Regions from separate parts of the Homo sapiens genome. Here region 2 is linked to region 1. Evidence: promoter capture Hi-C in 16 types of primary human blood cells and fetal thymus (Javierre and others, 2016). All regions are on one chromosome and are shown on one strand. The core of a region is centred on a gene start or on the middle of the fragment in contact, and the rest is flanking DNA. Distances in the headings are between cores, read along the strand shown. Region 1 holds the start of STAT5B (signal transducer and activator of transcription 5B). Region 2 holds the start of NAGLU (N-acetyl-alpha-glucosaminidase).

The links. Contacts are between HindIII fragments. The CHiCAGO score rates a contact against its expected background, and 5 or more counts as called.
Region 2: a contact is called between a fragment that was not itself captured here and the fragment with the promoter of STAT5B in region 1, in 2 of 17 cell types (fetal thymus and endothelial precursors). The highest score is 7.8, in fetal thymus.

What each region holds. Positions count from the first base shown.
Region 1 is chr17:42,274,075-42,279,401 of GRCh38, reverse strand. It overlaps STAT5B (signal transducer and activator of transcription 5B), which reads left to right and starts at 3,011. Exons shown (of 19, transcript NM_012448.4): 1 at 3,011-3,154. RefSeq lists a silencer at 2,769-3,378. The HindIII fragment of the contact is 9,010 bases long and covers 1-3,646 here.
Region 2 is chr17:42,533,253-42,538,579 of GRCh38, reverse strand. It overlaps NAGLU (N-acetyl-alpha-glucosaminidase), which reads right to left and starts at 2,339. Exons shown (of 6, transcript NM_000263.4): 1 at 1,925-2,339; 2 at 1,035-1,182; 3 at 95-241. The coding sequence starts at 2,307. It also overlaps the pseudogene PTP4A2P1. RefSeq lists silencers at 1,837-1,906, 2,027-2,436 and enhancers at 1,296-2,033, 2,547-2,626. The HindIII fragment of the contact is 1,324 bases long and covers 589-1,912 here.

The DNA.
Region 1 (5,327 bases), core at 1,762-4,261:
TAAACACCACAGTAGTAGTTAACCGCTATACAGTGCTTTACAGTGAAGCACTTTACATGTAGTAAACACTTATTTCCCGCAACCCGATGAGGTAGGTACTGTCTCTATCACCACATTACAAACGAGAAGATAGAGGAAAACACACTCAAGATTACCCAGCTCAAGGAATTGACAGAGTCTGGTTTGAGAACCTGTACTTTTTTTTTTTTTTCTTTTTTTGAGACAGGTCTCACTCTGTCGCCCAGGCTGGAGAGCAGTGGCACAATCATGGCTCACTACAGCTTCAGGCTGGGCACAGTGGCTCACAAATGTAATTCCAGCACTTTGGGAGGCTGAGGAGGGAGGGTTGCTTGAGCCATAAGTTCTTGAACAGCCCAGGCAATATAATGAGACCCTGTCTTTACAAATATTTTTTTTTTTTTGAGATGGAGTCTCACTCTGTCGCCCCAGGCTGGAGTGCAGTTTCGTGATCTCGGCTCACTGCAACCTCTGCCTCTCGGGTTCAAGCAATTCTCCTGCCTCAGCCTCCCCAGTAGCTGGGACTACAGGCGCGCACCACCACGTCCAGCTAATTTTTGTATTTTTAGTAGAGACAGGGTTTCAACATATTGGCCAGGCTGGTCTGGAACACCTGACCTCGTGATCCACCGACCTTGGCTTCCCAAAGTGCTGGGACTACAGGCGTGAGCCACCGTGCCCGGCCTACAAATAATTTTAAAAAATTAATCTGGGAGTAGTGGTGCACGTCTGTGGTCCCAGTTACTCATAAGGCTGAGGCAGGAGGATTGCTTGAGCCCAGGAGGTTGCCTTGAGCTGTGATTGTGCCACCACACCATGAGACCTTTTTCTGTGAGACTGTCTCCAAAAAATAAAAATAAAAAAAAATCATCACACCCTTGACCTCCCAGGCTCAAGTGATCCTCCCACCTTAGCCTCCTCAGTAGCTGGGACCACAGGTGTGTGTCGCCACACCGGGCTAGACCCTGTCCTCTTAATGACTGCATAGTCCTTGTAACCTCCATTTGCATTCCTAGAGCATAGCATTTGTTCCAAAAATATTTATTGAGTGTCTGTTCTGGGCTTGAACACGAGTAGGAGGATTTAAAAGTGAATAGCATATTGCGTCTGCCCTTGGGGACAGAGACAGAAACATGAAAACATGAAATTGTCCTTCAACACAAGAAGTGCTGTAATAGAGGCATGAATAACGCGGTGGGAAACAAGGAGGGAGGTCATGCTGCCTGAAGCAAATGTCACCGAAGGGCAGACATCAAGAAGGCAGGACATTCCAGGCAGAGGGAATAGCATGTGTGCAGGGATGAAAGCTCACAAGAAAGAGAAACATGAGTCAGGTGCGGTGGCTGATGCCTGTAATCCCAGCACTTTGGGAGGCTGAGGCGGGCAGATTACGAGGTCAGGAGTTCGAGACCAGCCTGGCCAACATGGTGAAACCCCGTCTCTACTACAAAAATACAAAAATTAGCCGGATGTGGTGGTGTGCGCCTGTAATCCCAGCTACTCAGGAGGCTGAGGAAGGAGAATCACTTGAACCCAGGAGGTGGAGGTTGCCGTGAGCTGAGACCGCACCATTTCACTCCAGCCTGGGCAACAGAGAGAGACTCCGTCTCAAAAAAAAAAAAAAAGAAAAGAAAAAGAAAAGATAAAAGAGAAATATGGAGAACATGGAGCACCTGAGTGTCAAAACATCATGGGCAGTAACTGTCAGGGAGATTGCCAGAGAGCTCGGGGTTGGTTGGCGCATCCATCCTGCTTCCTGCTTCCTTCTCTGGCCTCCAAGCTCCCTGAACCTACTCTGTGCAAAGCACTGTGCCAGGTGTTGGCCCAGAGTATGGGACTGCAGCAGTGGCCTGGGTAGCGGAGAAGGGTTTTTTGACCAGCTGGAGACCTTTGTGGCTGGTGTCATTCTGGAGGTGAAGAGAAGGCCGCTGGAAAGAGCTGCCCAGGGAGGACTATGGGAGAACTTGCAGCTCTGGGCCATCTCTGGACATGAACGTTTTGCATACACACAGGGGAGCTCTGTGTGTCTGAGTGGGGGCGGGAGGGGTCCTTCTCTCTCTTTTGGCCCCTGCAGCTTGGCTTCTGGAGCTTTCCTATGTCTTGCTTTAGTGCTAGCCCTTGGAGGGTTGCCAGGGAAACCGCTGGCCAGCTCCGGGAGATAGACGTAGCAGAGGAAAGGAGAGTGGGTGACTCAGCCTGGCTTCCCACAACCGCAACCCCCTCCTCAGCACGTGGAAAGGATCTGGGGGACCCCCTTCCCCTGGATCCTACAGATGACCCTGTTTATTCTTTCTTCTCTAGAGAGAGCAGTCCCTCCCGCAGCTCTGACTGGTGGGAGCCAGCCAGATTTTCCCAGGAAGGGAACCGGCCCCAGGCGCCCCGTCCCCCGTAGGTTCACCCTGGAACTCGGACAGGTGAATTCGGCCTGGGCGAATGTGAATTCCTGCCGTGCCCATGCAGGCGGCAGGAGCCCTGGCTGAGACGCCCTCCCGGGGGCAAACCCAGGATAATTATTGATCGGGGCCCCTGTGGACTTCTGACCTCGGCCTCGGCGGGAGAGGACCCGGAACGCGGGCCTGGGCTCCCAGGGAGAGAGGTGGGCGGGCCGCGGAGGGGGCCAACCAAAACGACCACGACAGTGCGCCCTAGCCCTGCTAGTGGTGGTCGACCCAACCCAAACAAAGCAGCATGTGCTTGCGGTGCGGCGTCGGCTAGGGAGCCGAGCCGGGAAGACACCCCACCGCCGCAGAAAGGGGGTGCGCGCGGCGCCGGCACCGGCACCGCCGAGCGCGCCGCCACCTCGGGTGTGCCGAGGGGGTCCGGGTCCTTCAAGGGCGGTCGCGGAGGGGGCGCGAGGGACAGCGGGCTAGCGAGCGCGCGCCGGGCGGAACCAGGAAGCGGGGCGCGCTCCGGGTTGCCAGCGGCGCGCGTCCCTGGGCCTCCGCGCGTGAGCGGCGCGCGCGCCCCCGCGGGCCCCGGCGGGAGGAGAGTCGGCGGCCGGAGCCGTCACCCCGGGCGGGGACCCAGCGCAGGCAACTCCGCGCGGCGGCCCGGCCGAGGGAGGGAGCGAGCGGGCGGGCGGGCAAGCCAGACAGCTGGGCCGGAGCAGCCGCGGGCGCCCGAGGGGCCGAGCGAGGTAGGAGCTGCGGGGCGAGCCCTGGGCCCGGGGCCGGGGGAGCCAGGCCGGGGAGCCAGCCCGGGCGGGGCCCGCGCTCCAGCCGCTCAGCCGCCCGTCAGGGCCGCGCCGCCGCCATCACTCCCGGGCCGCGGTGGTTGCGCGCTGGGCGAGGGGCGCGCGCGGGGAGAGGGGGTCCGGGTTGGCTGCCGGGGAGGCTGAGGGCAATGCGGGGTGCGCGAGGGGGACTTGCGAACGCCGCGGCGCCGCGGGGGGCGTGCGCTTTAAAGGCTGCGTGCGCGTGTGCTGAGTGGGTGTGTGGGGACCCCGCGCCGACCCCATAGGAGCTCAGGGGGCTGCTGTCAGCCGCCTCACACCTTCACGTTGCAATTCCGAATATCCCCAGCCGTCTTCCTTGCTTTAACTTCTTTCTTTCAAAAGAGGTTCCCGGGACTCCGGGGATGGGATGAGCCTGCGGGGGTGCCTGGTGCGGTGGGGGGTATTAGCAAAGCTTCAAGAAACAGGGCCTTATAAGGAATCAAGACAACAAATACGAACGTTTCGATAAGACTCTGGGGGGCGGGATCCCACATCAGGACCCGCCAGGCCTGGGCTCGTGCGTGTGGCCGTGGGATGCAGTGTGCTTTTTCTTTCTAGTCAGGGATAAAGGGTTAAAAGTGCTCCTGGTGTCGGGGGGTAGATATGGAGAGTCGGAAGGGGAGTTGTATCACAAAAGCTGGTCTGAGGCTAAAGGAATCTGGCAAGATGGTCGGGGTGAACAAAGAGGAAAGAACTCACACGGAGCAAGAGGCGGTTGCAAACACTTGTAGCCAGCAGTGATGGAAAAGCCAAAGAAGAAAACCAAGTGTCAGCTTTTAGAAAGACGGGATTAATGAAAAGCACAAGAATTTTAAAGACTAAAAGAGATACCGATTCTCTCTTTGCCAAAGAGCCAGAGTCAGTTCTTTTCTTCTTGGTCCCTGTGATCCCGCCATACCTCGTATCAAATAAATAGTGCCAAAAGTGGGTCAAAGAATGTTAGAGCTGGAAAGGAACCCAGCGATGATGCCATTCTTTTATTGTACAAATGAGGAAACTGAGGCCCAGATAGGTGGAGTAAGTGGCCTGCTCAGGTGACACGGCTGTTTGTTGAGTATCCAGGGATTGAAACTTCAAGGACTCTGAGATTCGTGCTCTTCCCAAAGCATCGTGCAGTATACAGATCTTTGCCTAGATACAATTCCATACATTTTCTCTGCAGTGTCCTCAGGGAATGCCCTTTGAAAGGGCCAGCGTGACACTGAATATCATACTTGGGCTTATGTCATTTTTTTCAGTCTTCAAGTGGTGTTTATGGTCTGCTTGGATCTTAGGTTTCCAAAGCTGTTGGATAGCCGCCTGGGCCATAATAAGCTTTCAGCTGTTGGGTCTACATTATTTCAAATAATTTTGTTATCTTTCAATTAAGGTAATAGAACTGTGCCTCTCTCCCCAACATTCTATTGTTGTCCATTTGCTTATGTTATATTGCGTTATGTTCATTGCCTGTGAGTTCCTAGGTGAGGATGTATTTTATTGAGTGTGCCTTTCATGTTTTAAAATTTCATTTTGTAACACTGTAAATATTGGAGTGGTTCTGATCACTTCAAATGGGGAGAATCTTATTGATTGATTTTATTTTAAGGCTTTGGGTTGTTTTGTTTATTCATTTGGGTACCAGTTTCCATCTCATGGAAGATCACAGTTGTTAGAATGGACATGGCTAAATAAGAGAAGGGGCTGCTGATTTTAAGAAAAACTTCCTATGTGACAATTTGTGGTATCTGTTACGTTTAATTCAAACAAGTCCACACCTTGGGTCAGGTAAGCGCGTTATCTAGGAGATGACTTGTTTGCTACTGTAGCCTCTGGAAGATGAAATTTCAAGCTCCAGATTGAGACACAGGGAAGGAATGGAGAGGTTTTTTTTTTTTTTTTTTTTTTTTTTGTAAAGCAAACCATCAGAAAAAAAAAGTTGATTTCTATCACCAGTAGTTTGGTTATTGCATAACTTGAAGCTAAACTCTGCACAAAATAATCTTTGCTATATACCCAACTAGGTAAACTATCCCACCTTCTCATCAGTTCTCACCTTTTCGGTGCTTGTATTTTTTGCCCACGGGATATTAATATGGATTGTGTTCAGAAATTTAAG
Region 2 (5,327 bases), core at 1-2,500, 260 kb before region 1:
CAGTTAAGAGCCCTGGGGCCGGCCTAATACCACCCTTCCTGGGCCCATGACCATCTATCACCGATTCTGCCCCTTCCCTTTTCCATCCTTTTACCTGCAGGTAAAGCTGCTTGATGTGCCAGGAGGGGGGCAGGGGGCCATCCCAGGTGTGCAGGTTGCCCATTCGCCCCCAGGCCAGGAAGGCAGGACCAGTAAAGAACTCATTGATCTCTGCCTGGGTCAGGCCCAAGGCCAGGTACACCTGAGGAAGAAGGGCCCACACATAGAAATATATTCATCTTCATTCATTCATTCATTCATTCAACAACCATTCACTCATTGCTTCTTTGTGCTGGGTGCTAGGGCTACTGAGACAAAATCCGAACGCTGCCATCAAGGAGCCCACAGCCCAGAGGAAAGAGACCTGTGAGTAGGTGAGTTCACTGTGTTGCCTTTGTCGCATGGGTGAGGAGATGGGGCACAAAGGGGCTTTCCCCCAACAGGAAGGCCTTAGAAGGCTTCATGGAGCAAGAGTGCCAGATGGAAGGGCAGGGCAACTGTGTGAAGAGCTTAAGCAGAGCCTGGAGCAGCCATTGCAGCACAGAAGCTTCCAGGGAGGCAGATCTAGAGCTGCCCATGAGTTGGATCCAAGGGACCAGGTGATTGGCTGCATAGGGGAGATGGGGGAAGGAGCCCCACTCCTCAAACTGGAAGCCTCAGTTTTTTTTTTTTTTTTTTTTAGACAGAGTCTCGCTCTGTTGCCCAGGTTGCTATTTCTTTGTATTTTAGTAGAGACGGGGTTTCACAATGTTGGCCAGGATGGTCTCGATCTCCTGAACTCCTGATCCGCCCGCCTAGGCCTCCCGAAGTGCTGGGATGACAGGCGTGAGCCACCGCGCCCGGCCGGAAGCCTCAGTTTTTAGGAGGCCCAAGCCACTGTGCACGCTGAAAGCACTTCTAGAGAGAGACACTGCGCCCATGCTGGGGGGCGGGTGAAAACACCTACGGTGGCTCCCGCCATAGAGGAGGGTGGGGAAGGGACAGTGGGCACGCACCCGCTGCCAGATGGCCTCCTGGCCGCTCCAGGCCAGTGCCAGGTTGATGCCATTCAGCGCCATCCAGTCTATCTCTCGCTCCCAGCGGGCCCAGTCCCACCACACGAAAGAGTAGCTTTGCGTGCACACATTCTGGTAATAGCGGTACCTGCGGGCAGTGTCATGAGCAGGGGCGCATCCCACCCTGGAGGGTCCACGGCCCTGGAACAAATCCCCCATCCCCCACCTAGAGGAGAGGGGAGGGGCTCCAAACTCGGCCCTTCTGCTGCACACTGGGACCCACCCCAGGTGGAGCTGAGACCAGGTACCGGGGCTGGGCTTCTGAGGCACTCGTCCCCTGCACTCTCCCAGGGCCCTCTAGCCTGGCGGGTATTTGGGTGGCATATTCCACTTTCATGCCACACTGCCAGAGCCCCTCCTCTGCACGGTGTTTTCCTGGAACGGGGAATCCCTGCCCCCACAGTCTAACAGATGGGCAGGGGAGGACAGCTGTGTGAACACATCACTCCATAGTGTGGCAGGCGCTGGAACACAGGCCTGTAGGGTGGGGGATGGAGGCGTCCTTCCTCAGTCCGCAGGTTCAAAGAGAAGGTGGGGGAGGAAGGCAAGAAAATTCACTCATCACCAATTGTGCACCACAAATTCTATGCCCATCATCGTGCAAATCCTCACAATAACACTGCACGGTAGGCGTCTTCTTTCCGTTTTTCAGGTGGGCCAGCCGAGGCTCTGAAAGGCAGAGTGGCTGGCTCAAGGCCACACAGCTGCTGGAGGCGGCGCAGCTGGGCCTTCCGGCCAGCGCTCCCCGCTCAGCCTCCCGATTTGGGTGGCAGCGGCTCCGGGAGGGGGTAAGCGCCTCGGGCGGACGCGGGGAAGCTTCGGGGCGGTACCTGTTGGGCGTGGCCTCGGTCAGCTCCCCCGGCACGGCTGGCAGTGGCCGCGGCAGGCGCAGCTGAGAGCCGGACCAGGCCACGTGGCAGCCACAGAAGTCGCGCAGGTAGCGGTGCAGCCCCGCGGCGGCCGCCACGCCCGTGGAGCCGCGCACCCGCACGCGCGCCGCGCCGCCGCCGCCCAGGCTGTAGGTGTCCAAGCCCGGCTTGGCAGCCAGAGCGCGCTCCACCGACACGGAGAAGTCGGCCGCGGGGCCTGGCCCCAGCAGCCGGGCCACGAGCGCCCGCACGGCCGCCGCCTCCCGGGCCTCGTCGCCTGCCGCGCCCCCGGCCCCGGCCAGGAGAAGGACCCCCACCGCCGCGGCCACCGCCACCGCCTCCATGGTCTCAGTCCTGCGGGTCCCGCGACGGCCAGGGGGTGGGGCGGCCCGCGTCCAATCAGCTGCCGGCCTCCGGCCACGTGGACCCGAAGGCTAAGCCCGGGCTCAGGGCCAGGAGTCGCGGCTTCCGGGTACCAGGATACTCCCTTGGGGGCGTCTCGTGACCGCACGCGGTGGGGAGCGTGTGACCCCGGCTCCAGGGCCGAAGGGGACCCGCTGGCCCTCACAGAGCGCCTTCGGGTAAAACGCGCTTTCACACGCAAATAACTTCCATCCAACCATCTAATAAATACACATTTGGAGTTTATTTTGTATCAGGCACTGCCATAGCTACTTCCCTACTGATGAACGAGAAGACGGTCCCTACCGTCCCCGTCAGGGAGGTGACCTAGAAACCAGATATTTAACGTAAGTAAGGATTTCCATCATAGTTGTGATGCTGCGAAGTAGTGCAGTAAGTAGCGAAGTAGCGAAGTAAGGTTTCCAAAGGAAGTGACTTTTAATCTGAAACTCAGGGATGAATAGGAATTGGCTAGAAGAGGGAAAGGAAGAGCCTTCCAGACAGAAGAAATGCATTTATTGAAGGCCCTGAGAAGGCAGAGAGCTTGCAGATTTGAGTAACTAACAGGCTAGGAGGTTCGAGGAGGGATGGGGCCATGTGAGCCCAGGCCGGCGGTGGAGCAGGGCTGGCGGGCACGTTAAAGGCTGTCCATTGGCGGCAGCAGCAGCAACATAACAGGAGCTGTCATTTTGTCAGAAGTTTCCAACCAGAGCGACTCCATCTTGAACAGGGGCTGGGTAAAATGAGGCAGAGACCTGCTGGGCTGAATTCCCAGGAGGTTAGGCCTTCGTCACAGGATGAGACAGGAGGTCAGCACAAGATAAAAGGTCACAAGACCCCGCTGATAAAACAGAATGCAGCAAAGAAACTGGTCAAAACCTGCCAAAACCAAGACAGGAAGGTGACCTCTGATCGTCCTCACTGCTCATTATACGCTAATTATAATGCATTAGTATGCTAAAGACACTCCTAGCAGCGCCAGGCAGTTTACAAATGCCATGGCAACGTCCAGAAGTTACCCTATATGGTCTAAACAGTGGAGGAACCTTCAGTTGGGGGGGATCCCCACCCCTTTTCTGAAAAATTCATTACTAACCCACCCCTTGTTTATCATATAATCAAGAAATAACCATAAAAATAGCCAACCTTAGGCCAGGAGCGGTGGCTTACGCCTGTAATCCCAGCACTCTGGGAGGCTGAGGCTTGCAGATCACCTCAAGTCAGGGGTTTGAGACCAGCCTGGCCAACATACAGTGAAACCCCGTCTGTACTAAAAATACAAAAGTTAGCCAGGTGCTGGGCGCGGTGGCTCACGCCTGTAATCCCAGCACTTTGGGAGGCCAAGACGGGCGGATACGAGGTCAGGAGATCAAGACCCTCCTGGCTAACACGGTGAAACTCCATCTCTACTAAAAATACAAAAAATTAGCCGGGCGTGTTGGCGAGCGCCTGTACTCCCAGCTACTCGGGAGGCTAAGGCAGGAGAATGGCGTGAACCGGAGAGGCGGAGGTTGCAGTGAGCCAAGATCACACCACTGCACTCCAGCCTGGGGGACAGAGCAAGACTCCCTCTCAAAAAAAAAAAAAAGAAAAAAAGTTAGCCAGGCTTGGTGGCACACGCCTGTAGTCCCAGCTACTTGGGAAGCTGAGGCAGGAGAATCGCTTGAACGCTGGAGGTGGAAGTTGCAGTGAGCCAAGATCGTGCCATTTGCATTCCAGCCTGGATGACAGAGCGAGACTCCATATCAAAAAAACAAACAAACAAACAAAAAAAGTTGAAAGAGGCCTGGAATCAGATATCAACTTTAGATACTAGGGAAGTATGATTTTTTTTTTTAATCTCAGCTCACGGGAACCTCAGCCACCCAGGTTCAAGCCATTCTCCTGTCTCAGTCTCCTGAGTAGCTGGGATTACAGGCACGTGCCACCAAGCCCAGTTAACCTTTGTAGGGATGGGATTTCACCATGTTGTCCAGGCTGGTCTCGAACTCTTTTTTTTTCTTAAACATTTTATTCATTTTATAGAGAGATTTCTTGTTTGCTTTTGTTCTGATCATTAGGAGAGTGGTTGAGGAGTATTGAATCCATCACTACTTTGATGACACAGGTAAGAGTCCAGATTCACATTTCCAGGTACCAGGAGTTCCCTCTAAATGCCACAATCAAGTCAGCCTTCATTTACATTTCTTTCTGCTGAACACAGCAATGCCCATTGGTATCTCTGAAGCGTAATCGCATCTTAAGTAAAGCAGCTGTTTGGAATTTAACACTCCCCTTCTTTTTTGTCTTATAAACTGAACTGCATCTACGTACTTCATTCCACATTCAATCAAAGCAAGTGCAACCAGCACAGGTGCCCTTCCCAATTCCACAACGCAATGCACTGCAACACAGCAACCTGGCTCTTCACGAAATTTGGTGTTTAACAGGTTTAACCAATCATCTACTATCTGATTAGGGGATGGAGCTCCATCATCAAATGGCCAATCTAGAACGTGGATTCCTTCTTTTTCAACTGGAGCTTTATCATATGTAGCATCACAAACTCAAACCGAAGTCGTCACTCCATACTTCTTAAGTTCCTCTGTGAACTTGTTGAGAGTAGCATTGGTAGGGTTGTGAGTTATCAGAAAACACATGTTCTCATAGGAGATCTCCACAGGGGCTAGACGGTTCATTACGGCAAATAAAAAGTGTGAGCGTGCCTGTGAGTGTGATGGGGAAAGTGAAAAAAAAAATCAATAAATCTTGAAATGTTTAACAACAGAAAACATTAAAAAGACCATGAAAATGCCTATTATCAATCAGTGTTTTCTCTATTCAACTTGTTTATTCCTTATGAAGCTTCTCTCTTCAAGATAAGCAAAGTATTTAGAATCCACTTGAATCCAAATTCAATTTGGGCCTCAATTTCTGCAGATGGATACCTTCGGACTCCAAAAAACCCAACTACATACAAAAC